6 separate regions of the Homo sapiens genome follow, and regions 1, 2, 3, 5 and 6 are each linked to region 4. The links are contacts of gene promoters, found by promoter capture Hi-C in blood cells and fetal thymus (Javierre and others, 2016). All regions are on one chromosome and are shown on one strand. The core of a region is centred on a gene start or on the middle of the fragment in contact, and the rest is flanking DNA. Distances in the headings are between cores, read along the strand shown. Region 1 overlaps FBXL13 (F-box and leucine rich repeat protein 13). Region 2 overlaps FBXL13 (F-box and leucine rich repeat protein 13). Region 3 overlaps SLC26A5 (solute carrier family 26 member 5). Region 4 holds the start of NAPEPLD (N-acyl phosphatidylethanolamine phospholipase D). Region 5 holds the start of FAM185A (family with sequence similarity 185 member A). Region 6 overlaps FBXL13 (F-box and leucine rich repeat protein 13).

Region 1 (3,894 bases), core at 77-2,576, 270 kb after region 4:
CAGGGAACTGATGGGCCAAACAGACATCCAGCCATTTATAAAGCAAGATCAACATGGTAGGGTTATGGCACTGACACACAGAAGAAGTTTCTGATTAGGATAGTTTGGGAAGGCTGAGGTCAAGGTCTTCTTCCAGCATCAGGTTTTCTCTGATTCAGAAGGAAAGAAGCCAAAGGGCTCATATTGGGTTTCCTATCCAGCAAATTGACCTTGTATTTAGTGAAAATTCCTCCAAAATCATGGCAGTAGTTTGACTCTTAGTCTTGGTTCTCACTCTCCTAAGTTTTGATCTTTTTCTTTTGCAGGAAATGGTATCAGGGACTACTTAACTTGATCACTTTTTAACCCAAGAGAAAAAGACCTTGAGGGCCATCTGTCTTATTAAAAATTATGAACAAAGGAACAGAAATAACATTTTAATTAATACTTCTCCCATTCCTCTCATTTATACATTTTATTACATTAAAATCTATATAATCAAATTTGGTTTTAAAATATTGACAAAATACCAGTATATAGATATTACCTTGCTATTTTAGAAATATATTGGGTATGGTAGCTATTACTTTAATACTATTCTATATGTTTATATATAGAATCACATGTAAAATTTTTCTCTCTTTCCTACAGAATTGGTGATATGGGACTAAAGCAATTTCTTGATGGTCCTGCAAGCATGAGGATAAGAGAGCTAAATTTAAGCAACTGTGTGCGGCTAAGTGATGCCTCTGTTATGAAACTATCTGAGCGGTATGATAAAACAGTCTTTTACATCATATCATTAGTATTGTATATTTGATAATAGGAGACATGAGACACCTAAAAGCAAAGATTTCATGACATTTGGGGGAACATCAGAGATGCCCAGAAGCTGGTTAAATGTTCAGTGAAACCATGTGAAAGACATTGAAGTCATAGATTGGACCAATTTTTAAATTATATTATTATATTTAAATTACATCTGAGGGAGTCGTTCCTGAAATGATGAATATCTAGATATGGGTGGCTTCCCTGTACTTTTTCAAGGAGATTTTCTCTAATCTCCCTTTTCCAGGAGATTATCTTTACTCCAGCATTTCCCAAGGGGTGTTCTGGCTGGTTTATTCTTGACTCCCCTCTTGTCAGAGGTCTTGTACAATTCCTGTAGCAAACTTGTAAGGGATAAGTAGGGTTCTTAACTTGCACTTTTAGTGGTCATTCACTATGGTACTTACATGATAGTTTTTGATATGTGACATATTTTTTCCTTATTAGAAATTGTAATACGAAACTAAATTACAGAAAGAAAGTCATATAATAATCTACTGCCCTTTCATGCAACTTTGTAATGTCAAATTACTTTCTACTTTTAGTCTTACTTTTATGTTGAGTAAAGGAAAATCTTTGCTTCAATACCATTTGTTTTCCCAAGATAGTTTTTATATGAAGAAATTGCTTACTGACAATATGATTGACAGCTAAAATTAATCCATGCTACTTTCTTTTAGCTGCCCTAATTTAAACTACTTGAGTTTACGAAATTGTGAACATTTGACTGCCCAAGGAATTGGATATATTGTAAACATCTTTTCCTTGGTATCAATAGATCTCTCTGGAACAGACATCTCTAATGAGGTAAAAAAATTCAAAACAGTACAATGACTTTTATTGTTTTCTATAATACAATTATTTGCTATTTTGTAAATAATGGAGAGAACAATAATATGTTTTATTTGTTATTCTATTATAAAAGTTAAGTTTAGGGATATTGTTTCTAGAAGGGTGATAGAAAAGTTTCTTTGAATCAACAGTCATGTTTCTCTGTTTAAAAAATAGCAAAATACAGTATTTTGGGGAAAGTCATGACAGATAAGAGTATGTCATGATAATTTGAGATTTGTTTCATTACAGAAGTTTGGTCAGTATGGAGATAATATATGTTAGATGGCTTAACTATATTTTTCTTACGGATTGCACATTTTATGAGACTACCCGAATGCCTTGAGATCTAAGTCTTTAGTTCAAGACTAAACTCTAGAAATGGCCTCAACAAATCTACAAAAGGATATGGAATTCATTTCCTGCAAGCTGCTGATTGTATTCATCAGGGTTGAGACTCAGGCCACATCCATCTTATCCCTCTGGGACTGCCCCATTTACTAATCAAAAGGAGGATAACCCTGAGAGATTTGCCATGTTTCTGAAAGAACTATGGGCTATAGTTATACAAGGAATATATGGACTTCTCTTGAAAATCATGCATTTGGAGGGATATAGGAAGACAATATCTTATATCCTATATCCTTCCTATATAGGAGGGATATAGGAAGATATAGGGAGGTAAGGATCCCTCCTCCATCTGCTTGCTAAATCCCTATTCATCCCTGAAATATCAACTGTCTATGAGGGCCTTCTCTGAGAAGCCCTACCTTGCAGGCAAGCACTGGAATTTCTCTGCTTGCATCTCCAGCCCCAGTGTATCCTTTAACATGAACCGTTTCTATTTCTCACTGCATTGCAGACATCTGTTATGTGTTTATCCTTCGTCAACATTCGGTGGGGTCTTTTAAATGAAGGACTAGATCTGTTCATTGGTCTAGGTTCTTTCCTTTCTTTATCTATGAATGAACTTGGATTCAGCCTCCTTTCTGCTAGATGACCTCCTCTTCCCTTCCATATCGTCCATGAGTGATGTGAGATTGTGGGTAGGAAGCAGTACCATGGAGTCAACTCATTATGGCAGGGTCAGTGTCTGGTCTTCTCAATGTTGTCTTCTGTCCAAGCTGGAATTCACTGAGATGTACGAGGGCCCATTTGGTGTTTAGTTTCCCGTCCAGGTGGATCCCTGATGTCTCTTCCTTGTTCCAACTCCAAGGCCCCTTCAAGTCTTCAGGTTTCCCTGTCGTGTCTGCCTTGCTCTGGGCTCCTCTGGGTCTTCCTGGGTCATGGAGATCCTGTGAGGCTGTCTTAGGTCCACAGTCCTAGACACCTGCTGGAGACATTTTCTTGCTCCCACATCATGAATGTGTTTGCCCTCAAACTCATGACTCACCCTCCCCTTGCTCTGCTACAGGGTGACTCACACAAGTCAACTAGATTCCATGTTAGGGTTGGTGCTTGTGAGACATTTCTGAGTGATTACAGGGCCAGTAGAAGGGACATTCCAGGGTTTTCCTCTACCTTTCTTTGCATCATCATCATCAGCTGCATTTCCTTAGTGTTCTACTCCCCTCTGAACCACAGGCCTGCTGTGGTTCCAGCTTCCCTGAATGAAGTCGGCCTCTGGGCTTCAATAACATCATATCTTCCCATTGTCCTTCCAGCATAGGGACAGTAGTGGCTTCCTACTGCTGCTAAGCTCTAGATTTTGTCACTGTCCCATTTGGCTTCTCAGTTTCTCTACCACCTATGTAGCCATTCCCCCATTAAAATTAAATCTCCTCAGTTTTGCATGCTCAGGGTTGTTTCTGCTTTTCCCGTTGACTCTTAACTGATACAATGACGAGCACAGGAACACTCTGTCTTATTGCTTTTATGAACCCTACTGGGAAAGGTGGAATGGGTTCCCATCTACTTAGGCCCCCAAGCCTACCCGGGGGTTCCAACTTTCTCTCTAGCTGGATAGAAAGTGAGAAGGTCTAGAACAGACCCCCCATATGATGAATTTCTCAGCATTTGCTTCCCTCTGGCTCTCCCCTCCCCTCCTCTTTTCCCCTGTCCTCTCCTTTCCTCCTCTCCCTTCTCATCTTCTTCCCCTCCACCTCTTCTCTCCCCTTTTCTCATATTTGCTCCTTTCCTTTTGACATAGATTCTTTTCCTAATCTGGGGGTGGAAAAAATGTTCCAACTGATTACATGGTTTTGAAAAATGTTATGCCCCAAGTCTTTCAGGGCTTGGGCTTTTGAAGCTTAAAGG
Region 2 (4,268 bases), core at 1,193-3,692, 320 kb after region 4:
AGCATTTCAAAACAATGCTAGAGAGTAGATGTTATTTTCCCTAAGTTAAAAAAGAGGAGCTGGGCACAGTGGCTCATGCCTATAATCCCAGCACTTTGGGAGGGTGGATCACTTGAGGTCAGGAGTTCAAGACCAGCCTGGGCAACCTAGAGAAACCCCATCTCTACTAAAAAAAAAAAAAAAGAATTAGCCGGGCGTGGTGGTGCACGCCTGTAGTCCCAATAGGCACAAGAGGCACAAGATCACTTGAACCTGGCAGACAGAGGTTGCAGTGAGCTCAGATTGCACCATTGCACTCCAAGCCTGGGCAACAGAGGAAGACTCTCAAAAAAAAAAAAAAAAAGGAAACAGGCTCAGAAAGATAGTAACTTGCTAAGATTTAAGAGGTAATAAATGGTGGAAACGAAAGCAAAACTCGGGTCTGTCTGATTCCAAAGAATCTGTTCTTTCCATTACATTCCACTGTCAATCTTGGAGTGTCTGCCATATAATCTTACCCTCAGATTTCTTTTCTTCTACTCATTACTGACCATATGAGTCAAACTTCATTAGACCTAACTTCAAGAAAACCAAATTTTGTTAGCAGGCATTTGAATATCACTAAGCTGTTAAGCTGCTTTGTGAATATCTTTTGCTATAAACAGATGTTGGATGTAACATGGGTTTTTTAAATTATTTTTTGGGGGCATCAAGATCTAACATCTGTATTTCAGGGACTGAAATGTACATTTAATAAGCTACTATAAGTAAGACAGTTCTAGATGACTAAAGAAAAGAAAAAATTTGACCTTGGAATTTTTTGCAGGCATTCTGCAAAAGCTCACTGATCTTGGAACATTTGGATGTCTCTTATTGCTCCCAGCTGTCAGATATGATTATCAAAGCACTGGCCATTTACTGCATTAACCTCACATCTCTCAGCATTGCTGGCTGTCCAAAGGTATGTGCAGGAGTCAGGGCTCAAACACATCCAATTTAAGCACTGCCAAGGGACAAGGCAGGACAGCGATCAGGGCTGGACTCAGAATATGTTCTCTTTGCCATGGTTGAGGTATTCATTGGATTTTTTTCTTCTATCCTCAAATTGGAAATAGCTTATGATTCCACTGGTGTCAAAGTAGAATTTTCCAAAAGTTAAAAACATAATTCTCATACAAATATAAACATGTGTCAAAGATTTCTTTAATTCACTAATGAGAGAACCAACAAAATGACAAAGCCAGTGCGTAGAGCATTTGAATGAACTTAGTATTTGTAGGAACTGATGAAAGAATGTTGCATTAAGAGTGTTAGGTTAGATCTAAAAGTGTTTTACAAGTTATTAAATCCATAACCTTGGGGTTACAGTTTATACCAGATACAAATAATTTGCATCTTTCCTGGACAAAAATATAACAACATATAACTTCATTGAGCTAGGGCCTTAGTGGACAGTAAATGGTATGTCAAACAAAGGCATGATTTCCTATAGAATTCTCCAGGTAGGCCTGTTAAACAGTGTTCCAGTTTGACACTCCAAGGACATACCATCATCTTTTGTGTTATTTTCAAGTGTTTTATAATTTTTCTGGGACCTCTGTATATAAATGAAGTAAGTACTCATTATGAAAAATTTGGACTACATATAAAAGCTTAAGGGAGAAAGTAAATATCCATTGTCCTGTCACCACCTGGACATAACCATCGCTGGTATTTTATTCTTCTAGATTTTTTTCTATGCACAAAAAGATTAGAAATAGTTACAGAAAGTTTGTGTTTTGCCTTGTTTTTTAAAATAATAGAATCATACTTTCCAAAATACATTGTAACCTACTTTTTAATATACTATGGACATATCTCCATGTAAAGAACTAGAGATCTCAGGTTCTGGATTAATAATAGTAGACTGAATATACACATATAATTTTGTTCCTCTTGAAACGCTACCAGAACTAGAGATGAAGAGTGAGGGCCCATATGGATAAGGAAAACAGGAGAGGAGATAAGAGCAACAAAAATTTGGAAGCTTGAAAATAGATGGACTAATTTAGCAGACCAGAGACTGCTTTGAATCCTAAGCCAACAGTAGAGAAAGCTGGAAAAAAAAATCTGATTTACACCACAATCTTCAAGCTTGGGAGCACCGTGTACCTTTGGAACTGGGTTAAGAGTGGGGATGAAAATAAGGGAGACTGAGTTAGAGATTCTTAAGAAGTAGATAGATCTCTAGATTCCAGCCCCTACTCCATAAATCTGGGCAACTGTCTCTCCCCACCCCAAACAGAAGCCTGGAGATTTATTTCCTAAATTCTGGTTCTTCATCCCTGACACTATTCATATTTTGGACAAGATAACTCTCTGTAGTGGGGTGTGTGTGTGTGTGTGTGTGTGTGTGTGTGTGTGTGTCCCGGGCACTGTAGATGTTTAACAGCATGCCTGCCCTCTACTCACTATATGTCAGTAGCACATAAGATCCCATCCCTCCAGACCTTACCACATGTTCTCTGGTGGAGGTGAGGGCCAAAATTGTTCTTGAATTACCCACTACTCTAGAGATACTAAAACAGAGGGTTGCTAGGCTAACTAAGTGACTCAATGCTGAGTGCAGAGATATTCAAGCACTTTTTCCAACTGAGCATCAAGAACTTGGCTGCCAGATCTTCTTCTCCAGGTGGGAGATTGGTAGCCTCTTCTCTGGGAACCCTGACTAGCCCAAGATGAAAGACCTAAAATGACTGACAGGGGTGGTTCCCAACAAATAACACACGTAGATCATCCTTCATTGAAGCTTACAATAGAGATGCGTGTACTCTGACCTTCCGATTAGTTTTTAGTCCTCCACTCTTAATCGTGAACAAAAGGATTACCAGACATAAGAGGAAAGTCTCTAAAGTGGAAGATATTGATCAACACAAATTAACAGGAAAAACTTGGAGTTAGCAAAATATGAAGAAGGAAGAAAACTAAGAAATTTTTTTGAAAATCCTCAGAAATTACAAGGTTATTAACAATCGTGTTCTCTTCTATTGTACACACTGAAGGCTTTTGTTTACTACAGCATCACACCAACTCTCAAGATGCCCTACGCTTTATTTAATCTAGAAGTTCAGCTTCTATGTTGTTTGGTTTGTATGGTTAGCTAATTGTGCTGCAATAAAAAGGAGGAGGCAGCAGGGAAAAAGATGTGGTAAACCGTGACAAAACTAAGCCAAAAAGTTCACAGCAAAATTATTTTTGTTTAATAATATACTTGTTTAGAACTAGGGGAACCAGATGTCTTTCTGGTCAGCATCATCTGGTTCTATTAGTGAGCTGGGTCAAGGGACCCAGAACACTAGAAGCGCTGACCAACTGACTCTCTGCAACTTAAACAGTGATAGTTCACAGAGATTCTTGCGTTCATAGCACACAGACATATGGGCAACACATGGCTTAGTGAGAAGTGAGAACTGCCCTGGCTATAAAGCAGGCACAGATGGAGACTGGGTTTCTTAGTGGCTCTAAAGCAGAAAGTAGGAGAATGAGAAAAGAAAAGGCTCCAGTGCAAACAGAAAATAGGGCAGAGGATTTTGTTTGTTTGTTTGTTTGCTTTGGTTTTTTGTTTTTTGTTATGAAGGCTGAGGGAATTCCTTCTGTAAACTGTGCATGGCTATTGTCTTGCAGCCCAGAAGCTAAGGGGGATGTTAAACAAATATGCAAGAAATGCATCACTCTGTATCAAAGGTTTAGAGGGAGAAAGAGGAAGAAGGAAGAGTCAATTATTTTAGAACGCTGATACAAAGGAGTAGAAAGATTTAGCTTTACCATCTGAATTGTTCTGGTCAGACTGTGGGTCAGATGAGTATCCTGATTGAGAAGATGTGGGGACCATCATCTGGACCAATCTGAATACTCCTCAACTCACCCTGAATTCATAAGGCTGTGGTCCAACCTAACATATTCCACTTATGTTGATTTTGATGAGCCGTAAAACACATTGGTGTCTGGCTCATCATTCTGTGCCAGGTTTCCCAAAAGTCCACAGGTGAATTTTGAATGGTCACCTTATCTATCCCCAGAAAGGCCGGCTTTTCCTTGCAACCACCTCACCTCGAAGGTCAGTTAGTAGTACTGTGACCTCATCCTACTCGACACTAAAATGCCAAGGAAAACAAATATAGCTACAAATCAGAGGAAAAGCTGGTTGCTCTGGGGCCAGTTCAAAGCACTCAGCAGTGCACTAGGCCCTGTGGTTAACACTGTCACTTTTGACCCTCATGACCGACGTGAAGTGGGAGTTAGTAATGATT
Region 3 (3,861 bases), core at 152-2,651, 260 kb before region 4:
GTGAACCTGCACATGGATGTTTATAGCAGCTTTATTCATAATTGCCAAACCTTGGAAGCAATCAAGATGGCCTTCAGTAGATGAATGGATAAACTGTGGTACATCCAAACAATGAAATATTCAATATTAAAAAGGAATGAGCTATCAAGCCATGAAAAGACATGAAGGAACCTTAAATGCTTATTACTTAGTGAAAGAAGTCAGCCTGGTGTAGCTTAATACTGTATGATCCCAACTGAATGACATTCTAAAAAAGGCCAAACTGGCCAGGCACAGTGACTTATGCCTGTAATCCCAGCACTTTGGGAGGCTGAGGTGGGCAGATCGCCTGAGCCTAGGAGTTCAAGACCAGCCTGGGAAACATGGGGAAACTCTGTCTCTACAAAAATTAGCCAGGTGTGATGGTACACACCTGTAGTCCCAACTACTAGGGAGGCTGAGGTGGGAGGATTGCTTGAGCCCGGGAGGTTGTGGCTGCATTGAGCCATGAACATGCCCCTGTACTCCAGCCTGGGTGACAGAGCAAGACCCTGTCTTAAAAAAAAAAAAAGGGGGGGGCAAAACTTCAAAGACAGTAAAAATATCATTAGTGTCCAGGGGATGGGGGGAGGGAAGTATGAATAGAGCACAGAGAATTTCTGAGCAGTGAAACTACTTTATATCACACTATCATGATGGCTACCTGTCATTGTACATTTGCATAGACTGTACCACACCAAGAGTAAACCTCATGTAAACTATGGACTTTGGGTGATAGTGATAGGTCAATGTAGGTTCATCACTTGTAACAGATGTGCCACTCTGGTGGGGGATGTTGATAGTGGGGGATGTTGATAGTGGGGGAGGCTGTGCATACATAAGGGCAGGGAATGTATGGAAAACCTCTGTATCTTTTGCTCAATTTGCTGTGAACCTAAACTGCTCTAAAAATTCTATTTAAAAAAAAATGTCTAAAGGATGATGTGAACTGCCTAGGACCGCAGAGTGAGGGAAAGAGTCCCCTAGAGGGTGTGACCTGCACTTCCAAAGTTTCTTGGGAGTAAAATGTCAAGCTTTCCCATTGAGTAACTGGAAGGTAATGAGACTTGGCCCATTTGATAGGTACCTGCCTAAGAAGACTGCCTACAGGATGAGCATACACCAGCCAAAAGAACGTGGAAGGCTGTACCTTCTGATAAGAGTCGGAGGAGGGATATCTAAGAGTCAGGAGGAGGGAGCATTACATAGGTTAGGGCATAGTAACTGAGAGTCCCTTATTGCAAAGGGGTCTCCAGAGAACCCACAAAAACACCCCATTGGAGAACGAGCTCGCATTTGTGAGTCAACACCAAATTACAATGACAACCACTAAGATAAGACTTTTTTCTGCTTTTATCTAATTTGTGAAAGAATAAAGCAGAAAAAAAAATCACCCACTGGCAAAAAGGAGATGACAATGCAAAGTTTCTCAGCTTGGACTCTATCAGCACCAAGGTAAGATGATGTGCAGGACTGGGGTAGGGCAGGTTGCAGCTTAAATTAAGATGGGCTTCACTCGTTCATCAGAAATAAAGAACCAAGAGAAAAACACATGTAACACCTCTGTCTTCTAATGATCCCCCATTTCTGTTTGGTTTTTAATCCCACAGGCTTAGCCTTTGCAATGCTGGCAGCTGTGCCTCCAATATTTGGCCTGTACTCTTCATTTTACCCTGTTATCATGTATTGTTTTCTTGGAACCTCCAGACACATATCCATAGGTAAAAGCTTACATTTGATATTCTATTACCTTTCCTTGTGTATTTCCAACCTTGCAATGTGCCAAAGAAATAGCATGGTCATTATTAAAAATTGTCTTAATAACAACTTTTGTTACTGCATACACAATAGGTGCTTTAAAAACCTACACTCGGCCAGGTGCGGTGGCTCATCCCTGTAATCCCAGCACTCTGGGAGGCCGAGGCGGGCAGATCGTCTGAGGTCAGTAGTTCGAGACCAGCCAGACCAACATAGTGAAACCCCATCTCTTTGTAAAAATACAAAAATTTGCCAGGCTTGGTGAGGGGTGACTGTAATCCCAGCTACTCAGGAGGCTGAGGCAGGAGAATCGCTTCAACCTGGGAGGCAGAGATTGCAGTGAGCTGAGATCACACCACTGCACTCCAACCTGGGCAACAGAACGAGACTCTGTCTCAAAAAAAAAAAAAACAAAAAAAAAACTACACTCCTCCCAAGATTTCTAGAACTTACAATTTTCTTATAATCTTGGGATAATAAAAAAGACAATTTTCTTGTGTAAAAGGGCAATTGTTGAAATCTGTGAAATGAGATAAATGCTTGATTTCATAATGTAATTTGCCAGCTTCTGGTTTTTATTTTTATACTAATGGTAGTACTTCAAGTTCCTAATCGCTATGCATGTATTTCATTTTTGTCATATTTTGGGCTCTGAATTGTACATATTTTCAGTTTATCAGGGGCATATGGATTTCATAATAGTTCTGGTGCTGCATAAGGCTACTACCTAACACACACATACTTTCCAGATATCTACTGTTTGGTAACAAATACCCCCAAAATGTAGCAGCTTTACAACAACAATCATGTTTGTATCTTCCATAGTGCCTGCAGTTCAGGACTTGGGAAGGGCTGGTCTGGGTAATTCTTCCTCTCTCCCTTTTTCCTCCCTCCCTTCCCTCTTCCCTGCCTTCCTTTCTCCATGCAGTCCCAGGAATTCTCCACTTGGCCTAGTTGGAGCTTTCTTACACATGGTGACTTAGGGCTTCAGCAGAAGGTGGAAACTGCAGCCCTTTTATTACCTAGCCTGAGAAGTCACACAACGTCACTTCTGCTGCATTCTTTTGATTACTAACAAGTCAAAGCCAAGCCAGATTCAAGGAGAGAGAAATTAGACTCCACCTCTTGATGGGGAAATGTCAAGAAGACTCTGTGGATGGAAGATATTGCTATGTCTATTTTTGGAAAATACAGTCTGCATGCGCACACACGCACACACACGGTTGCTCATACACCAGGGGCAGGACACTAAAGAAGGGAGCGTAGCCTTCCTTCAAGCATGATTTCTTGACCTCACCTTTGTCTCTTGGTGTACTGGCAAAAACCATATCAGATACTCTGAACCCTGAACAGGGATCTTCATGCTTCATTATTTCAGGTCCTTTTGCTGTTATTAGCCTGATGATTGGTGGTGTAGCTGTTCGATTAGTACCAGATGATATAGTCATTCCAGGAGGAGTAAATGCAACCAATGGCACAGAGGCCAGAGATGCCTTGAGAGTGAAAGTCGCCATGTCTGTGACCTTACTTTCAGGAATCATTCAGGTAAGGCTCAAAGATGGGGAAATGGACTGTCTCGTTTGTTAACCTAACAAGTATCTACTGAGTGCTCTTGGCTGGTCTTACTACACGGTGGATGGGGTCAGCCAGAAAAACCCCAGAGCTCTGGGAGTAACTGCAGACCAACTGCATGCCATATTCACAACTATGAGTGACGAGCAAGCAAGCTTCAGGTGGGTGTTTTAAAGATCCCAAAAGCAAGACAAGTTTGACACGGCAGGATTGGTTAGTGCTGGGAGAGGACATTCCTCTCTGCTTGGAAGAAACAGCCAGTGATCATGATCATGCACTTTAGTCTACATGATGAAGCATGCCCCCAGCTCAATGAGAGACAGGGAAGGCATTAGTGTGGTCAGCGCACTGTGGGGCACCAAGCCACTCCAGACCTTCCATTGTTTTCTGTATAACCAGTGGTTGATTTTCTAGCTACTTACCCACTTGAGGTACAAGTTTGCAGTGTTAGAAAATGGTCCAGAGGCTGGGCGCGGTGGCTCACACCTTTAATCCCAGCACTTTGGGAGGCTG
Region 4 (4,099 bases), core at 366-2,865:
GATGAAGTCTCGCTATGTTGCCCAAGTTGGTCTCCAACTCCTGGGCTCTAAGGATTCTCCTGCCTTGCCCTCCCAAAGTGCCGGGATTACTTCTCCGTTGCTTAGTCAAGAACACTATGAAGAACTTTTGAGTAGTAACTTCAACTTACCCTTTGGGTTTGTATGTATGCTGTTACTTTTTTTTTTTTCTTCTGTTGCACAAAGGTATTATTCACCTTATGCAGTTTCAGCTCCACCCAGGTGCAAGCAGCTCTTAATCACCCTTAAGTTCAGCAGCCACTCTAAGCTAGCCTGAGGAGATAAAGTCCACACTTGACATACAGTTCTTTACATTCCTCCAATGTCACACAGGCACATTCACTTTCAAAATGCAGAATAGTTTGGTCTGCATTTTTCTGCCAGTCTTATCTGCATTTAGAACCTGTGGTGGTGGTTTCTTTTTTGCCAAGATAACCCCAGGGACAAGCTTTTTTTTTTTTTTTTGACCCTGGCACACCCCAGGACTTTTATAATCTTTTTGCCCAACAACCCATTGTTGAATTTTACTTCGACATGCCTGTACTTTACTTCTTGAAACAACTAATTTCATTCTGCAGTTTAAAAAGCAAATCCAGTAAGAAACTCAGAATCACAATCGTATGCTCTTTCATAGTTATCCTAGCGTTAAAAAAGATGCAAATTTAGATGAGAACCGTGTGTACCAGGGGGCTGTGACATCATTTTAAAAGTAAACGATCACACAGTGAACAATGCCGTGCTCCCATTAATATTCAATACGTACTGTACAACATTTCAAATTAGAGTTTAGTTTCTTCGCTACCAGGATCCTAGCGCCATAGGCTGTAAGTATTCAAATGCTTCTCGACTGTGATTGAGTTGGCTATGACAGTCCGTCAATGGGTCTGCAGGATCCCATTTAGTTTTAGCAACTGTGGCTGGTGTCCAGGAATGCGTTCATGCGATCTGAAAGTAAGCCTCTGGCTTAGGACAGCGGGGGGAACCAATTTGATCTTAGGAGGGTCCCTGCAGAGTGTTTGAGTCGCGAGGCGGGCCGGGGCAGGCCGCGTGCTCCCAGGCGCTTCCTTTACCAAGATGGCTTCGGCGCCCCGGCCCACAGGGGCGGCCATCTTGGTAAGGGCTGGAGAGGCAGCCTGAAGGAGGCCACCGCTGGCCCTGCTGTCAGATTCGAAGGTCATAATAAGGGAGTGACCCGGCGACGACTCGCCCCAACGATGGCGAGGCGGCGAGAGCTGAAGCGCTGCCTGCAGCTGCTGGCGTCCTCGGCGGAGCCAGCGCGGCGGGCTCGGGTTAGGAAGAACCCGAGCGCCTGCCGCGGTCGCCCCTCCCGCTACGCGGCGGCGCTTTGCGCGGGGACTCTGTGGCCGGAAGCCGCGGAACTGAGGCGGCGCGCGCTCCCGGCCACCCCAAGCGCGAGGTGAGTCCGCACCCCCGCGCTCGCACCCCGCCGCTCTGGCCGCGCGCCCGCGGCCCGGGATCCCGAGTGTCCGGAGCTCCGTGGTTTCTGTTGGACCTCGCGGGAGGCGGTTTTCTCCCGCCTGCTGTGCTCTGTGACCTCTCTGCTGCCTCCTCCACGGTCTCTGGGCGGAGCAATCCACACTGCTGAGCCTGGGGTGGTTTGGAATTCTTCGGCGAAGTGGAGCGGGCTGAGAGTGGGTTTCCCGTCCCCGAGCCCTCCCTCATCTCGGAGATGCCGCACTTGTGAGCGACAGGGCTTCATTTGAATTTTCGCACCTCGCGAGTTGCGGAGCCTGCATCTCTGAAGCTGCCTCGGTGAAGAGCCACAGCATTATTTTTTTTCTCTTTGGGAGAGTAGCTGTCTGGGATTTGAGATCCTATCTTCCCTGCAAATTACCAGGTTGCATCTTCACTGATAGGAATACATGTGGGTTTATCTTCTTTTGGTTGTATGTAAATGAATGGGTCGACAACTTCCTCCGAGCAACTTATTGTTGCTTCATCTATAGTGTTTATCTTCTAAAAATCCATTCCAACAGGTTTCTCCCCTTTTATTTTGGAATAAGTGTACTTATTTAACTATGGAATGGAAATGAAGAGCAAAAAAAAAAATGGGGCTAGCTGGGGAGGGGTGGTGGAAGGCTGTGCTTTCTTGAGTTTTCTGTTCTGTGGTTGTTTGCTTCTTATAAATTGGGTATTATTGTGGGCTTTTCAGAACACGTATTCAGATAGGTTTTTGTTGTTGTTGTTTTGTTTGTTTGTTTTTTCCTTTTTTTTTTTTTTCAAGCTAGAGCTCGATATGGTAGATACTCTTCCATGGGTTCCGGGATCACATGCATTCATTATACGTCAGTTAAACCTGGAAAATATTAAGGGAGTGAGTAAAGTTTAACAGCCTTTTAAAAAGTCATTTAGTTCTTGTCTTTGCCTTTACTGTACGTTGTTATATATACATGTTATAATATGACTGACTCACCTGGTTGGCTTTGGCTTAGCATGAAATGTTTGCTACTTGATAATTCTGATTAATTTGTCCAGGAAGTCATTCCTGAGATGCAGTTCTTCAAATTGAGAAATAATTCCCATGTTTGTTAAAAAATGGAAATCTCTAACATTTCCATTTCTATTTTCAGTTACATTGGTTATGAATTAGCCGCAGACATGGACATCGTTTAGAAAGAAGTTATGTAATCTTTAAAAAGAAGATTACCTATATCCCACAATAGTGTGATTTTTGTTGCAAGAAAATACTGGGTCTGTTAAAGAAGAAATTTAGGGTAAAAGTACTTATTTAAAATAATAATTTAAGGAGAGATTGAGGGGTTAAATTTGTTTCAAGTCAACTGAAAATATAGTCAGGATTTTCAGAGATTTTGTTTTGTTAACATTCTGCAGGCTTTCCTGCTACAAGAATTATGGTAAGTCTCCAAGAGATAAAAATACTTAGTGTATTTCTCATACCCTTATTTTCACTCAGAATTCCAAATTATATTGTAGAAATTCTATGTTACAAAATTCTAATTTTAAAATTAGTCCAGTTATAACTATATGAAGAACATTTTAGCATAAGCATTCCATCACAGGGTTTTGGTTATACTTTAGTTGATACAGTCATTCTTGTGTTTGTTCGAAAGGGGTATTATGTTACTTTGAGTATTTGTGAGTTTGGTAAACTGAGAGGATTTTTATGAACATTTAGTCTGTGTTTGGAAAAGCAGTATTTGCCTTTAATTTTGTTGTTTCATTCTGCTTTTTCTTTGTGGTGATGGATAGCTGTGGATATAGTGAGTTTTTCCATTGCTTTCTACACTTTGTAAATAAGAATATAGCTATAGCTGGAGGACTGTTGATCTGGGCTTTTTAGGTTGAAATGCATACACATAAAAAGTGTTTTCATTGAAGTATTATTAGGGAAATGAACTGTATGTATAATTAATCGTTAAAGAGCACTTTTATTCTGGAGGCCAGTGAGGGCATGCATAAAACTGGCATTAAAATATCACCCATGTGATTTCCAGCATAAGATTCAAGTAATATTTCATTCTAACGCCTATACTACTGAATAATTCTGTCTACAATTTATAGTGCTTTGCTTGATTTGTCTTTTGAATTTATTAACCATTTATTGTGTATTTAAGTATTTTACTAACAGACTTTGGAGACAGATTGCATACGAACTCATATATCCCCAGGGGCAGTTTTATGTTAGAGATAGTCTTCTGCAACCTCAGCTGGTTAAATAATGTATTATAACTTTATCATTTACAAAGCTCTTTCAAATATTTTAAATATATGTATATATATAGAGAGAGTTTGATTTTATAGACATAAAATATGAGCCTTGTTCCACAGATGAGGAAAATAGGACACCAAGAGCCTGGGAGAGTCTGGTGATTTGGCCAAGGAACCTTAGCTCAGCAGCCCCAGCCTTCAGCAGAATATATACACTGCAGACTCTTGTTACAGCGGGGTTCCAATGAAGCGAAAGTGGAGGGGTGTGGATTAGCAAGCGTTGGTCAGCAACACACTCACAGATTGCACCCCTGCCTGTGGGTAACAGGTTGTGAATGGCCAGTGCTGTTGGCTCTGGAGGCACAGGTCTGGCATGTAGATGGATCAGCAT
Region 5 (4,087 bases), core at 1,025-3,524, 400 kb after region 4:
CTAGAAACCCAACTCCTCAGTTATGTCCGTAATATTGCTGAATCCTGGAAAGTGCATACTGTAAAGGTAAGGGGTCTTCTACCACAGCAACGGGACCAAAAACAATAGCCTTTCTGCCCGTTTTTAGAAACAGAGCAGTTATTTCTACTGGCCTAAATCACCTAAAGAGAACTAACATAGATGGGAAGTAAAGGAGACTACGATTCTGTTAAGTACTCCTGTGAAAGACTGTAGAAGCCTCTTCCCCAGTATATATGATCATGACTTAGGTTTTCAAATCCTATGTCTAACCTTTCATACTTAAAAAATGAAAATATTACCATGCAACTATATCACAGGTATTTGAAGTAATTTTTTAAAAATGGGAACAACTTTGAAAAAGCTAATATATACTATTAAAACTACAAGATTAGGCCATGAGCAGTGGCTCATGCCTGTAATACCAGCACTTTGGGAGGCCGAGGAAGGAGGATTGCTTGAAGCCCAGGAGTTCAAGACCAGCCTGGACAATGTAGCAAAACTCCATTTCTACAAAAAAACAAAAACATTAGCCGGGCATGGTAGCATGCACCTGTAGTCCCAGCTACTCAGGAGGTGGAGGCGAGAAGATTGCTTAAAACCGTGAAGTCAAGACTGCAGTGGGCCATGATTGTGCACCTGTACTCCAGCCTGCGTGGCAGAGTGAGTGAGATGCAGTCTCAAAAAAAACCAAAACAAACAAACAAAAAACCCCACAAGATTGTGGACAAATGGCAGTGGTATATGAAGCAAGTTTGGAAAATAAGGAATTACAAATGCCATCCTTGGCTGTCTATTTAAGATGTAACTGCAGGCATCTCTGTATACAAATTTTAAAAATTAAAAACGCTGATATTTAATTTGGAATTAACATAAATATTGATGATTTCTCTTAAAGTAGGCAAGACCCGCCCCCCCACTTGATTCCTGAAACCACAAATAGTACCAAATCCTATATATTCTATGTTTTTTCCTGTATACATATCAATGATCAAGTTTAATTTATAAACTAGGCATAGTAAGAGATGAACAATAATAACAAATACAGCAATTATAACAATATACTGTAATAAAAGTTATATTACTGTGATCTGTCAAAATATCTTAATATTTTCCTACAACAGCTGAGGCAGGTAACAAACTGAGACAGCCAAACGGTGGATAAGGGAGGACTACGGCATCTACTATTTGGGCAACTCTAAGCATTATAAAAGATGATCTTAAAAATGCTAAATGCTATTATTATTACTATCATCATCATCATCAATATCTTCCATCAGTCCCAGGAAGAATGACAGTCTGGGGAGCCCTTCCTAGAAAAGTGTGTGTACACAGTGGCTTGCCATTTAGGAAAAGCTAAGAAAGGTATCTTGCAGGCATTATTATTGAAGCTTCCTAGGCAGGCTTACCATGTGTTTTTCTTCAAAGCTTGCTACTCATGGAAAACTTAGGCCAAAAAGAATGGAAATATAACAGTAAGAAGCTGGGCGCCCGTCTAAAACCAAATACTCAAACCAGGTGATACCCGGAACATCCTATTGACAGGGCTGTTTTGGGACAGACCCCCAGGCTGTGAGCAAGATGAAATGTAGATGGACTGCCATACCATTGAATGAATTGTCAAGAAACTTCAACCTTGAAAAATAAGCCAGTTTGCTAATGACAACGGGATAAAGGAGAACACAAGCGGCTCCAGAAATAGAATTTGACCTGGATTATACCAAATCATGTTTCCATTCGATGTATAAAATTTCTATAATTGGGAACCTAATTTTTAAATACTACTCGGACACTCAAGAACAGAACAGAGGAAAAGGTGCATTTCCGAAGGGGCCAACTGTAAATTAGGTTTAGAGAGCCAGGACCAATTAAAAGTGCACGTCGACCACATTTATTAAGTTCACTGTGCGTTCCCTGGGACCCAAACCCGTTTTCACTTCACTTCACTTGCCAAACTTCAGGGGCGCGTTCACCTCCACGGACGCCTGGGGGTGGATAGTATCAGACACAATGGCCATCTCCTCCAGATCCTCGTCGTACTTCACCTGCAGGCCGTCCAGGCCCCGCACGCCGCCCTCCACGCCGCACACCGCGACCAGCACGCGGTCGCCATCCGGGTAGGTGAGGGGGTCCAGGGGCCTCACGGCCAGGTGGCACGGGAGCCGCGCCCGCAGCCGACCAAACGGGCTCACCTGCAGTGTCCACTCCTTCAGAGTTCGGCGCCCCGGGCCAGGCGGAGGGACCTCAGTCTCCGATCCGGGCCAGCGCTCGCTCCCACCTGAGCTGTACGGCCTGGCTTGGCAAGCCCAGCAAGCCCAGCGCCCAGCGCCAGCCCACAGTCGGACCTGACGGAGACAGAGACGGAAGCAGCCAAGCTCCCAACCTGAGCAGGGGGCAAGCATGGCGCGCCTCTCTCGCCAGTCCTCAGAACACTTCAGCCACAGGGAGGGTCACTTGCCACGGCCAATCGACTTGGCCACTGTGCCGCCTCAAGTCAAATAGGAGACGTAAGTCAGGGTTTGCTGAAACAAGAGCGAGCCGGTTGGCTTGACTAGGCGTTCTAAACATCAGCCGCGCAATCCCCAGGGGCAAGTTGGGATTTGAAAGCTCTAAACTCTGACCTGGACCCCTTGCCTAAGTCCACCCCCTTTCGCTAAGGCCGACGGGATAGGTAGTTCTAAGTCGCAGAGCTCTGCCTCTTAGAAACCACATTTCCCAGGAGGCAATGCGCAGGGGAGCACGGGTAAGAGGGTAGGTGTTAGAATCGCTGGAAAGGCGGGCGCCCTTTGTCTCAAGACCATTGGCTATTGGAGGGGCGGTACATGGGAGTCCACTGGCCAATGGGAAGCACGGAAGGGGCAACGCGGGTAAAGCTGCGTGGTCACCTTGGATACCAAGCACGCGACTTCTTGGTTGGAGAGGGTGGAGCTTTGGAGTGAGACCCAGGACGCCAAATCCCAAAGAGAAAAATAGGAGCCTAAATAAGGATCAGGACCAAGGGAAGGGGTAAGAAACTGCGCTTTTTAAGATGACAACTAGGTGCAAACTAGGAGTAACCTCTGTGGATGTCAACATCCAAGCTTCACTAACTTAGTGAGGGCATCTCCAGGGCATGGAGAATGCCTTGGTAAGAAAGTAAAGAGCAAGATTGGTGCTTTTTGAGGGAATTGCCTCTTTGGAAGTGTATTCCCTCCTATATTCCAAATATAGGAATAGAGTACTTGCTCCGTCCTGACCCTAAGTGACCTTACTTTGGGTTTTAATTTGCTCACTTTAAAAATGTAGATAATAATACCTTCCTTGCCTTGCCTCAAAGGGTTTTTGTAAGGATCAAGTAAGAAAATGGATGGGACCGTGGTGCACAGTCTACAAAATTACCGTGTAAAGAACTGTATTTTTATTTCAACGTACTTAACATTGATTCTGAGTTACCAAGAAAATTATGAGAGATCAGAACTTGTTTTGAGAATAGCATTGATCTCTTTGACTACAAATGATCCTCAGTTTTAGAGTGAAAAAAAAAAAAAAGACACAAAAAAGAGAGTCACCATGGTGCGGTGGAAAGAGCAGGGACAAGGGTCAGGTTATTTTCCTGGCTCTGCCACTGCTTCATCTGTGTCACCTAGACCTGTTTCTTTAGTTTTAAAATGAAGAAAGATGGTTCTAAATGACCCTATAAGGGGTGTGTGTGTGTGTGTGTGTGTGTGTGTGTGTGTGTTTACCTTTTATAATTCTATAGGCAGTAAAATAATGGGAACAGAAAGATTTATTTTCTTCTTTTTTCTTTTTTTCTTCTTTCCTGCCTGGTTTCTCTCTCCCCCTCTGTGCCCCTACTTCCTCCTAAAATGTATTCCCTAAATTATTTAGCCAAGACACCTGCAAACACTAACATTTCATAAAATGCAAGTGCCTTAAAAAATAGAAGCCCTTACCCAAGTACAATGACCAGAATTCTTGGGGCTATCGTGATAGATAGACTGGGCTAAAGTTCTCATGGGTACAAGTCTCAGGTTCTCTGCTAGCCACTACCTTTTTAAAATTTTTAAAAATTCAGTGTTCTCTTAAGTTA
Region 6 (3,868 bases), core at 1,181-3,680, 340 kb after region 4:
CCAGCTACTCAGGAGGCTGAGGCAGGGGACTTGCTTGAACCTGAGAGGCGGAGGTTGCAGTGAGCCTAGATCACGTCACTGCATTCCAGCCTCGGCGACAGAGCAAGACTCCGTCTCAAAAAAAAAAAAAAAAAAAAGAAGCCAAATCAAGTACTGACTACACAAAATTTCTGCCTAAATTTAATCAAACCAATAGTTTTGATGAGATTATAAAATCTACAGTTATATGAAACAACCCTGAGAGATGAGACTTTTTTGACAAGAAATTAAGAAATTTTTCTTTAGAAAGGAAAAAGAAAGCAGAGATGGCCATATGTCAAACTAAGAGTTTGAGCCAGGGGAATAACTTTAAGGATCTGTAACGCTTTTTAAGGCTTTATAAAGAATACAGACATATATTAATATTTTCAAAGGAAATGTGGCTTTTCTGTGGTTTCCAGACATTTAACAACAAAAGAGAACTAAATGCCGCCAATTAACTCTGTACTTATCTCAACATTTGACTTAGTCAGGGGCAAATTAAATAGAAACAAGAACTATCTGAATAGAAAGAATGTCCCTGCAATGTCTCAGAAAGACATCTCTTTAATCAAATTTGCACAACGGAGGAATTCTTAAACTATGCTATGCCAAAAAAGATGCTCCCTCAATTTTATGCTAGGAAGTATGGGTTATTAATTGCATATCTACATATTAGTTTTTAATAAGCTTTAATCCGTAGGTTTTAGTATATGTGCTGCCGAAGTGAGCACATCTGTGGGTTTTTACCATTATTTGATATTATGTAACACTGATGTTGACACAGTCCAAGAGAAAACACAACTCTGTTCTGACTGCCGCAAACAAGCCTTGTCAGCAATATCAGATCAGCCTTTTAACCTTTCTATTTCCTCAATTACTTATCTCTCACGTGGAGTTAATTCTCTTTTTGTATCCCACAAGTTTCAAATAAGGATTAAAAACTTAAGATAAAGCATCGTTATTTTGAAAAGTTTTAAAAAGATTGTACAAAGTATTATTATAGGCTACCTTGTATTAGCTAAATGCTTTTAGTAATTCTCCCCCACTGAGGTTGACTTGCAAAGTTTTTGAAATAAGGTAATATTACTTAGCTGTGGAAAGGTTCCTAGGAGTGGGCACACAGGCAACAGAATCATTTGAGTGGGAAGTTTTAGACCATAGCCAAGAGACATAAGATGACATAAGAGTATGATTTTAACCTAAATTTGGAAATTTCTGGCAGCTGCATTAAAGATGTTTTCAAAAATCTGATCCCTAAGTGCTTCATGCACACAACTGGTGGAACTTATAAAAGAGGCAATTGCTTTCTAAAGGAATGACACCTGCACTGGTTAGACCCCGGTAAGAAACACACCCTGTTATGTTCTCCAGAAACCTAGCAGGTTGCTTTACATTCAGAGCTTGCTCCAAAGCTCTTTGAGTAACATCCTTTCTTAAACAAGAACAGAAGACACATTCATTCATTCTGGGGAGACAAATTTTACAGCTACATAAATGAAGAAAAGGAGTAGAAAAAGTGAGCTATGAAAGGAGACCAAGAATAGGGATACAGGTAGAGAAATCTTTTAAGTTTTCGATGCAAACTACTCAAAATATCAAAGATATTAGTTAGGTCTTTAGCCCTTACGTATTTCATATTCATAGGTCTGTGTCCAAGAGAGTAAATTATGGCAGCTTTTTCTTTTTGTCTGGGACTTAACAATGTGATCCAAATATGTACAATTCCATTAGTAGCTTTAAATATAGTTGACTGCTGTTATGCTTATGACTTTTCTGGCTGTGGTTAGCTAATTTATTTTTAGTCATGAAAATGTTTATGTAATTGCATGAGGGTGAAAAAAGATTATCAAAACTGCCTCACTGCTACACAGTTTCCTCTACTTAATAGTATAACACACCACAACCATACCAAATATACCAATGTGTGAGTATCTTTCAGACTTGTATACATTCTGATTTCATGAAGGGTGAACTAAAAGGAGACTCTGAGATATCCTACAAAGCTGACTTTTGTTTCATAAATAAGAAGTTAAAAACAGAACTCTAAAGAAATGGAAAATTAATGAAAAGGAGGCTGGGCACAGTGGTTCATGCCTATAATCACAGCACTTTGGGAGGCCAAGGCAGAAGGACAACTGGAGGCCAGGAGTTCGAGACCTGATGAACATAGTAAAACCCATCTCTATAAAAAATTTAAAAATTAGAGCATGGTGGCACCTGCCTGTAATCCCAGCAACTCAGGAGGCTGAGGCAGGAGGATGCCTGAGGCCAGGAGTTTAAGGCTTCAATGAGCTATGATCATGCCACTGCACTCCAGCCTGGGCAACAGAGTGAGACCTCGTCTGAAAAAAAGAAAAAGATCATCATAAATAATAATATTTGGAAAGGTTTATTAAAAATTAGTGTTTAAGAATGGACTTCTCCTGGCCCGGTGCAGTGGCTCACACCTGTAATCCCAGCACTTTGGGAGGCTGAGGCAGGCAGATCACATGAGGCCAGGAGTTCAAGACCAGCCTGGCCAACATGGTGAAACCCATCTCTAGTAAAAATACAAAACTTAGCTGGGCATGGTGGCGTGCACCTGTAATGCTAGCTACTGTGGTGGCTGAGGCATGGGAATCGCTTGAACCTCGGAGGCAGAGGTTGCGGTGAGCCAAGATTGTGCCACTGCACTCCAGCCTGAGTGGCAGAGCAAGACCCTGTCTCAAAAAACAAACAAAAAAAGAACTGACTTATCTTAATCATAAAAAATATAATCCAAGCGATTTAGGCCATTCTTGTTTTGCTATAAAGGAATACCTGAAGCTGGGTGATTTCTAAAGAAAAGAGGTTTAATTGACTCACGAGGTTTAATTGGTTCTGCAGGCTGTGAAAGCATCGCACGGGCCTCTCTGCTTGGCTTCTGGGGAGGCCTTAGGGAGCTTTTACTCATGGCAGAAGGCAAAGTGGGAGCAGGCACATCACATGGCAAGAGCAGGAGCAAGAGAGAGACGGGGAAGATACCCACACTTTTAAACAGTCAGATCTTGCAAGAACTCACTATCATGAGGACAGAACCAAGAAGGTGGTGGTAACAATTAATGAGAAATCTGCCCACATGATCCAATCAGGCCCCACCTCCAACACTGGGGATTACATTTCATCATGAGATTTTGGGGGACAGATATCCAAACTACATCACCAAGAGATAGGTCTGGTCTTATAGTATAGTTATAGTATTATATAACTTATTTGTTTATTTTAATTAATTTTTTTGAGACGGAGTTTCACTCTGTTGTCCAGGCTGGAGTAAAGTGGTGTGATCTCGGCTTACTGCAACCTCTGCCTCCCAGGTTCAAGCGATTCTCCTGCCTCAGGCTCCCAAATAGCTGGGATTACAGGGATGAGCCACCATACCCAGCTAATTTTCTTTTTTTTGTATTTCTTGTAGAGATGGGGTTTTACCATGTTAGCCAGGCTGGTCTCAAACTCCTGACCTCAAGTGATCCATCCACCTTGGCCTCCAAACTGCTGGGATTACAGTCATGAGCCACTGTGCCTGGCCAGTATTATATAATTTAAATGTTCCAGGAATAGAGATGTTTGAAAGAAATGGAATTCATAAAATATCTTTATACAGTATACCTTTATAAAAATCTATCTTCATACATCAGGCTATAAAATAGCTGTTTCTTTTTTCCTAATTAGCTATATCTTAAGTTACACAAAAGATATTAAGAATCAGTAGCAACTGCTTCACATATTTGTTTTTTATTTACAGCTTAAATTTACATTGATGCCATAAAAGGTACTAAGTAGAAAACCTGTCATGTGAGAGCTACATTATAAAGAATTCTAAGCTAATTGT

Evidence for each region. The method cuts DNA at HindIII sites, captures the fragments that hold promoters and counts their contacts. A CHiCAGO score of 5 or more calls a contact.
Region 1: a contact is called between a fragment that was not itself captured here and the fragment with the promoter of NAPEPLD in region 4, in 1 of 17 cell types (neutrophils). The highest score is 6.4, in neutrophils.
Region 2: a contact is called between a fragment that was not itself captured here and the fragment with the promoter of NAPEPLD in region 4, in 1 of 17 cell types (monocytes). The highest score is 5.2, in monocytes.
Region 3: a fragment that was not itself captured here is called in contact with the fragment with the promoter of NAPEPLD in region 4 in 2 of 17 cell types (M2 macrophages and M1 macrophages); the score reaches 5.4 in M2 macrophages.
Region 5: a fragment that was not itself captured here is called in contact with the fragment with the promoter of NAPEPLD in region 4 in 1 of 17 cell types (fetal thymus); the score reaches 11.1 in fetal thymus.
Region 6: a contact is called between a fragment that was not itself captured here and the fragment with the promoter of NAPEPLD in region 4, in 2 of 17 cell types (M2 macrophages and M0 macrophages). The highest score is 6.3, in M2 macrophages.

The regions. Positions count from the first base shown.
Region 1 is chr7:102,875,187-102,879,080 of GRCh38, reverse strand. It overlaps FBXL13 (F-box and leucine rich repeat protein 13), which reads left to right. Exons shown (of 21, transcript NM_001394494.2): 16 at 631-750; 17 at 1,488-1,614. Among named protein-coding and RNA genes, the nearest start is that of LRRC17, 36 kb to the left of the region's middle. RefSeq lists an enhancer at 2,326-3,525. The HindIII fragment of the contact is 5,125 bases long and covers 1-3,888 here.
Region 2 is chr7:102,829,512-102,833,779 of GRCh38, reverse strand. FBXL13 (F-box and leucine rich repeat protein 13) reads left to right here. Exons shown (of 21, transcript NM_001394494.2): 19 at 806-940. It also overlaps a transcript of FAM185A not described here. Among named protein-coding and RNA genes, the nearest start is that of LRRC17, 81 kb to the left of the region's middle. The HindIII fragment of the contact is 655 bases long and covers 2,115-2,769 here.
Region 3 is chr7:103,410,880-103,414,740 of GRCh38, reverse strand. It overlaps SLC26A5 (solute carrier family 26 member 5), which reads left to right. Exons shown (of 20, transcript NM_198999.3): 5 at 1,629-1,739; 6 at 3,155-3,321. Among named protein-coding and RNA genes, the nearest start is that of SLC26A5-AS1, 32 kb to the left of the region's middle. The HindIII fragment of the contact is 694 bases long and covers 1,055-1,748 here.
Region 4 is chr7:103,146,615-103,150,713 of GRCh38, reverse strand. It overlaps NAPEPLD (N-acyl phosphatidylethanolamine phospholipase D), which reads left to right and starts at 1,615. Exons shown (of 5, transcript NM_001122838.3): 1 at 1,615-1,903. It overlaps LOC105375434, which reads right to left. Exons shown (of 3, transcript XM_047421168.1): 2 at 150-1,696. The coding sequence ends at 894. The HindIII fragment of the contact is 3,849 bases long and covers 469-4,099 here.
Region 5 is chr7:102,747,541-102,751,627 of GRCh38, reverse strand. FAM185A (family with sequence similarity 185 member A) reads right to left here and starts at 2,629. Exons shown (of 8, transcript NM_001145268.2): 1 at 1,970-2,629. The coding sequence starts at 2,420. It also overlaps the pseudogene RASA4DP. RefSeq lists silencers at 2,640-2,809, 2,850-2,939 and an enhancer at 2,612-2,906. The HindIII fragment of the contact is 1,652 bases long and covers 1,449-3,100 here.
Region 6 is chr7:102,809,110-102,812,977 of GRCh38, reverse strand. It overlaps FBXL13 (F-box and leucine rich repeat protein 13), which reads left to right. Exons shown (of 21, transcript NM_001394494.2): 21 at 1-1,789. It overlaps FAM185A (family with sequence similarity 185 member A), which reads right to left. Exons shown (of 8, transcript NM_001145268.2): 8 at 3,753-3,868. Among named protein-coding and RNA genes, the nearest start is that of FAM185A, 62 kb to the right of the region's middle. The HindIII fragment of the contact is 3,439 bases long and covers 711-3,868 here.